Linked DNA regions of Homo sapiens: region 1 is linked to region 2. Evidence: promoter capture Hi-C in human tissues and cell types (Jung and others, 2019). All regions are on one chromosome and are shown on one strand. The core of a region is centred on a gene start or on the middle of the fragment in contact, and the rest is flanking DNA. Distances in the headings are between cores, read along the strand shown.

Evidence for each region. The method cuts DNA at HindIII sites, captures the fragments that hold promoters and counts their contacts. A contact is called where the count stands out against the background at its distance.
Region 1: a contact is called between a fragment that was not itself captured here and the fragment with the promoter of ADCY3 in region 2, in 2 of the 25 tissues and cell types used here (dorsolateral prefrontal cortex and mesenchymal stem cells).

The regions. Positions count from the first base shown.
Region 1 is chr2:24,497,434-24,500,133 of GRCh38, forward strand. The region is part of intron 1 of NCOA1 (nuclear receptor coactivator 1); the gene reads left to right. Among named protein-coding and RNA genes, the nearest start is that of NCOA1, 7.5 kb to the left of the region's middle. The HindIII fragment of the contact is 5,514 bases long and covers 1-2,700 here.
Region 2 is chr2:24,918,974-24,921,673 of GRCh38, forward strand. It overlaps ADCY3 (adenylate cyclase 3), which reads right to left and starts at 1,264. Exons shown (of 22, transcript NM_004036.5): 1 at 710-1,264; 2 at 1-211. The coding sequence starts at 14. It overlaps LOC124907742 (a long non-coding RNA gene), which reads left to right and starts at 1,371. Exons shown (of 2, transcript XR_007086246.1): 1 at 1,371-1,599; 2 at 2,025-2,485. RefSeq lists silencers at 649-1,378, 1,409-1,468, 1,509-1,718, 1,729-1,818. The HindIII fragment of the contact is 12,687 bases long and covers 1-2,700 here.

The sequences.
Region 1 (2,700 bases), core at 14-2,513, 420 kb before region 2:
TTCAGAGACCAAGGCAGGCAGATCATGAGGTCAGGAGTTCGAGACCTGGCCAATATGGTGACACCCTGTCTCTACTAAAAATACAAAAAATAGCCGGGTGTGGTGGCGCAAGCCTGTAGTCCCAGCTACTCAGGAGGCTGAGGCAGAAGAATTGCTTGAACCAGGGAGGCGGAGGTTGCAGTGAGCCGAGATCGCGCCATTGCACTCCAGCCTGGGTGACAGAGCGAGACTCCATCTCAAAAAAAAAAAAAGATTCTTGTGCTGTTTCTGGTCTCACCTTTGTACTTCAGTAATGTTGATTCTTTGGTGCTTCTATCCAGGTAAGGTTATCTTTGGTTGGTTTTGGATTCTTAGCCATAAAATTCTGCCTCTCAAGTTTTGTTGGTATTTAAATAGCTAAAGCTTAGTGTGGTTTGGTTTTGTTTTTATTTTTTTGGAACAAATTGCTTGGTCATTCTCTGTGTTTCCACTTGTAATTTGAATGGTTGATTTTATCTTAAAATTCCAGTTTGCCTATATAGTTAAAACATTTACATACTTTTATTATCAAGCATAGATTTGATTATTTAACAGTAGGTATTCTATTGTGAATGTATGTATGTATATAAACATATCACATCATATTTGACCAGATAGTTGAAGGATGAAATGTCCTTGAGTTTTGAAAACATCTGTATGTGTAATATTGACTTTACTTTGGTGAATTTGTTTGTAAGAAACAAAAAGTTATTTGTTCTGCAATGTCTAATATCTCCCTCTCCATTCTAAATGGTACAGGTAGTCTGTAATTGAATTTCTAAGTAGCTACTCAATCATTCGGTCAAGACGTAGTTATATGAGTACGTACTTTGTTCAAGGTGCTGTGCTGTAAAAAGATAGTGGTTATTGGGAAATTAACCGATAAAATATAGATCCTGTTCTTAAGCAGATTATGACCTGAGAGAGGTGATAAGACAAACATACAAATACCTATAATAGTAATTGAATGTGATGAGTGCTGTGAGACAGGTCCTGAAACAGTGCTTTGAACATTCAGGGAGAGGGAATGATTATTGTATTTTCATTTGAGAAAAATCAGGGCAAGTTTTATGGAGGACTTGGTGGTAGACAAAAGCATTGAGGGCAGGGGATGATTTCTTTAAGAATAGAGACAAGGAGAACAGTATGTTCAGGAAGATTAAATAGCAAAGATGAAAAGACGGAGTAATGCAGGGGAAAGTGCAAGGAGTGTGGCATCAGCTGAAGTGGGAGAGGGAAGCATATCGTCTAGGTGTAGTAAGAAAACATTGGTGGATTTTAATGGAGGGAGGTGGTGGGGAGCAGTATGTAGTAAGTATGTAGATATGGATGAAAATGAGAAATGTCAATTTTCCAAATTTACGTGGATCTTTTCTTGGCAGGTTTTATACCCCAAATTTCATATTTTTTGTTTTTGAAATGATTCCATATGTAAGGCTTACCCACATTGGGAACTTATTCACTCATTTTTATGTATATTTAAACACAGATTATATGGTTTTTTTTTTGAATAGAAGTTGGTACAAAATCTTTTTCACTGCCTTATACTTTTTTCGAATTAACTTTTTTGTTTTTTACTTTTGATTATGAATTATGCCTTAACCTACATGTGATATGAGATATGCATATTGCATGATACTTGCCCAAGAGTTAGCCAGTTGATCCAACATAATTTATTAACATATTCATTTTAATAATTCCCTACTATTTTGAAGTCTACATTTTGATGTTTCTATACTCCCTTTTTTCTGATTCTGCATTTCTTTATTCCAAAAATAGATACATCTATTTAATATGTGGCAGTTCCTTACTGTTTTATATATTGTTACTGATAAGGAAAATCCTGCCATCAACCTTAAAAAAAAATTTTAACCTCCCAGTGATTCTTAGATGTTGATTTGAGTTTATTAAATATATAGATGAATTTTGGACCAACCAGGATTGCAATATTCCAACATTCCTCCAGCATTGTTCTATGGCCCTTTGTTTATCAGATCTAATTTCATGCCCTCTAAATGTGCTTTATATTGTTCTTAGTGTACTTCTTTTCCATTTTATCTTCTATTTCATACCATTGACTTTTTTTTTTAAGCAGTAAGTATTCTTTTAAACAGTGTATTATCACTTGGCATTTTTTAAGATGATGCAGTGGACTTGTTTGTTCGGTGTAAAAATGTCTCTTTGTATAAATATAAGTGTATCTGACTGTATAAATGAGATTGGTCATACAAGTTGGAAGCCCCTGGCTCTCATTTATAGTTCATGATTTATTTTACTGATTTATTTATGCCTTGCCATGTTCCAAAAAGGATTTAAGGCAGGATGTGTCTTGAGGAGTCTTGGACCTTGTTCCAGCCCTGTCTATTATTTGACTGATGCCCCTAGCCAACGTTACTCGTTACACGGAGGGAACAGTGTTGAAGACAACTAGTGTCACTGAATGTGCTGTGGTGTGTCTTTTGCCAAACTGGTAGTAATTCAGAGATGATACAGTGTAATTGGGGTACCTTTAAAGATAAGTCCTTTAAACCTTGATAGCATACAACAGAAATTGGCTGGAAGTATCCCTTCAAGTATCCCTGCTGGGTAGGCTGATAAAGAGCCTTAACTCTTGGGACCCCAGGCACTTTTAGCCCGGTAGTTTCTTTTTTTCTTTCTTTCTTTCTTTTTTTTTGAGAAGGA
Region 2 (2,700 bases), core at 14-2,513:
TGGTTCCTCGGCATACTGGCTGGTGTCTGCTACTGGCCCTAGAGAAGTGGACTGGGAACGGAGGAAGAGCTCTGGACTGGGCCTCCTCTCAGGGCTCTCTGAGACCGGGGGAGGGCTGAGGGCCTCTTCTTGTCTGGGGCGGAGGGGAGGCCACCTCCAGCAGGAACGCAGAGCGGGTTTCCAGAGCACAGGTAGCACTGATCAGCTAGAACTGAAAAGGGCATTGCTGAGTAGAAGCACCTCTTCCCTCCTACCTTGCGGTTTCCCCATGACCCGCCCTAACCCTCATAAAAGGATCTCTGCTGCAAGAGCCTCCCAACCCAGGGCCTTCCCTGCCACCCCCGGCTCACACCACCGCCCACCGCAGGCACACTTAGTCCTGTCCACGCCAGACACTCAATTTCCTGTCCCTGGCTTGTGGAAGGGCCTAGCCGCCTTTCCATCCCTGGTAACCGGTTTCTCTCTGTCATCTCTTCTTTCTCAGTCCCCGACTTCCTCACCTAAATTCCCTCCAGGCCCAGTCCTTAGAAGCTGTAAATAAAATGTGCCGGAAAGAAATCAGGACCATCGTGGGGGATTCCTGAGCCTTCCTTCTGTTTACTTCCTTTTTCCACCAAACCCTTGGAGGCTCGGGCTCCGATCCGGCCCCCTTCCCACGCTCGGGGCGCTGTCTTCCCCCCCGGAAGCCTGGCCCTGCCCCTGCGTTTACCTGTGCGGGAACTCGGCCACCGCGTGCTCCGGGACGGTCCCCGCGCGGGCTGGGGCGGGAGAGCTCGGCGCGCCCGAGGGCTGCTCCCCGCAGAGCCGCGCCGCCCCGGCAGCGCCTCGGGGCCCGGCCGGAGCGCGATCTCCCGCCGTCAGGCCCGGGATCCGACCGGGAGAGGCGCAGGGCTGCCCCTCAGCATCCGCGGGCGCCCGGCCGCAGGGGGAAGGAGGAGGCGGCGACGAGGGCTGGGAGATCCGTGGGCGCCGGCCCAGCGCGCCCGCCCTGGGGCTGAGGCTCAGGGGCAGGGGCCGTGCGGGGGCCGGCAGGCGCGGGCGGCGGCGAGCGCGGCTCTCCGGACCCCTCCCCTGCACCCGCGGCGGCGGCGGCTGCTAGGGGCGCGCGCGGGGCCCTCCCCGGCGGGAGCGCGGGCCGAGCCCGGGGAAGCCCGCCAGCATCCTCTCGCCCGCCCGCGCCGAGCCGAGCCAGCCGAGTCCGGGCTCGGCGTGCTGCACAGCTATTCCCCGCGCGGCGCCGGCGGCTCCGGGGCCACGCGCGCTCCAGGCCCCGGGAGGCGGGAGGCGGGAGGCGGGAGGCGGGCGGGGCGGCCCCTCCCTCGCCCCAGTCTCCGCCCTCTCGGCGGCGCGTTCCGGAGTGGGGCGGCGAGGGAGGCGCCGGGCGGCGGTCCCAGGACCCGCGCGGGCGAGAGGTGGAGGGGCCCGGGCGGCCCCCGATCCGGCGCGGGCGGCGGGCTGGGGCGATGGCTGCGTGGAAGCGCGGGCGCGGGCGCGGGCGTGGGCGGTGGGCGGTGGGCGGCAGGGCTGGGGCGAATCCACCCCTTCCAGCGAGGAGGCCCGGTCTAGGAGGATGGAAGCCCGGGACGCGCCCGCCCGCAGGTGAGGCGCGCTCGGGGCACCCCGCCGCCCCCTCCTCCGCCGCGGCTTCCTTCCGGGCCGGCAGAGGCCAGGGCTCAGGTTTGGGGACCGCTCCGCCGCGGGGCACGTGGGGCCTAAGTATCCCCGCCCACCCCGGGAGCCCAGACTCCGGAGCGCCGGGCCTGAGCTTTCCGCAGAGGGGCTCGGCAGCGGAGCCCTGTCCTGCTCCCAGGAGGCGGGTGGCGGTGGCCCGGTGGGCACTACACACGTGGAACTGGAAGAGTTCCTGAGACCCTGCTTCGAAGAGATTTCCCGTGCACATTCTACCCGTTTGAGATGTGTTTGAGTTCACAAACTGTCCCTTAAAGATGCGAATGCTCCTTTGAATAGTTAAACCTATCAGTCTCTTACACCATAGTATAAATTATTTTCCTTGCATTTGACAGAACACCGTGCTAAGATCAACTACAGGCTTTGGGAATTTAAATAAAGGAAGAGGAAAGAGATAGAATGTTTTGGGACAAAAGGGACAAAAGCATGTGTGGGAAGGTAAGTGCTGAGGACAGCCAGCAGCAATAGGGGGTCATCTCCCCTGGGGAGAGCTGAAGGAATGAACAGAGGGGAGAGAAACTTGGCTATCCAGACCCTGGATGGAGCTGCCACCCCATGCCCCTGAGAGTTATCCGCGGGCACCCCTTCCAGAACCTCAGGCATCACCTTGCATCCCTCGGGGAATGGATCCATTAGAGAATCGATCCTGCCACTGCTGTTTCTACCGTTCCCTCACACTCTGTCTGAAAAGGCGCCACCTTCAGCCCATACTTCGCAGGGCTTTGATTCCAAAGGTAGGGGACCTAACATCAGATATAGGAGTTTGGTAATTTAAATAAAGCAAAACTTTGCCCCATTGTTTTATTTTATTTCTATTTTTTATTTTTTCGAGACTGAGTCTCACTCTGTCACCCAGGCTGGAGTGCAGTGTTGTGATCTCAGCTCACTGCAACCTCCACCACCCAGGTTCACGCAATTCTCCTGCCTCAGCCTCCTGAATACCTGGGATTGCAGGCACACACCACCAAGCCCGGGGTAATTTTTGTATTTTTAGTAGATGGGGTTTCACTA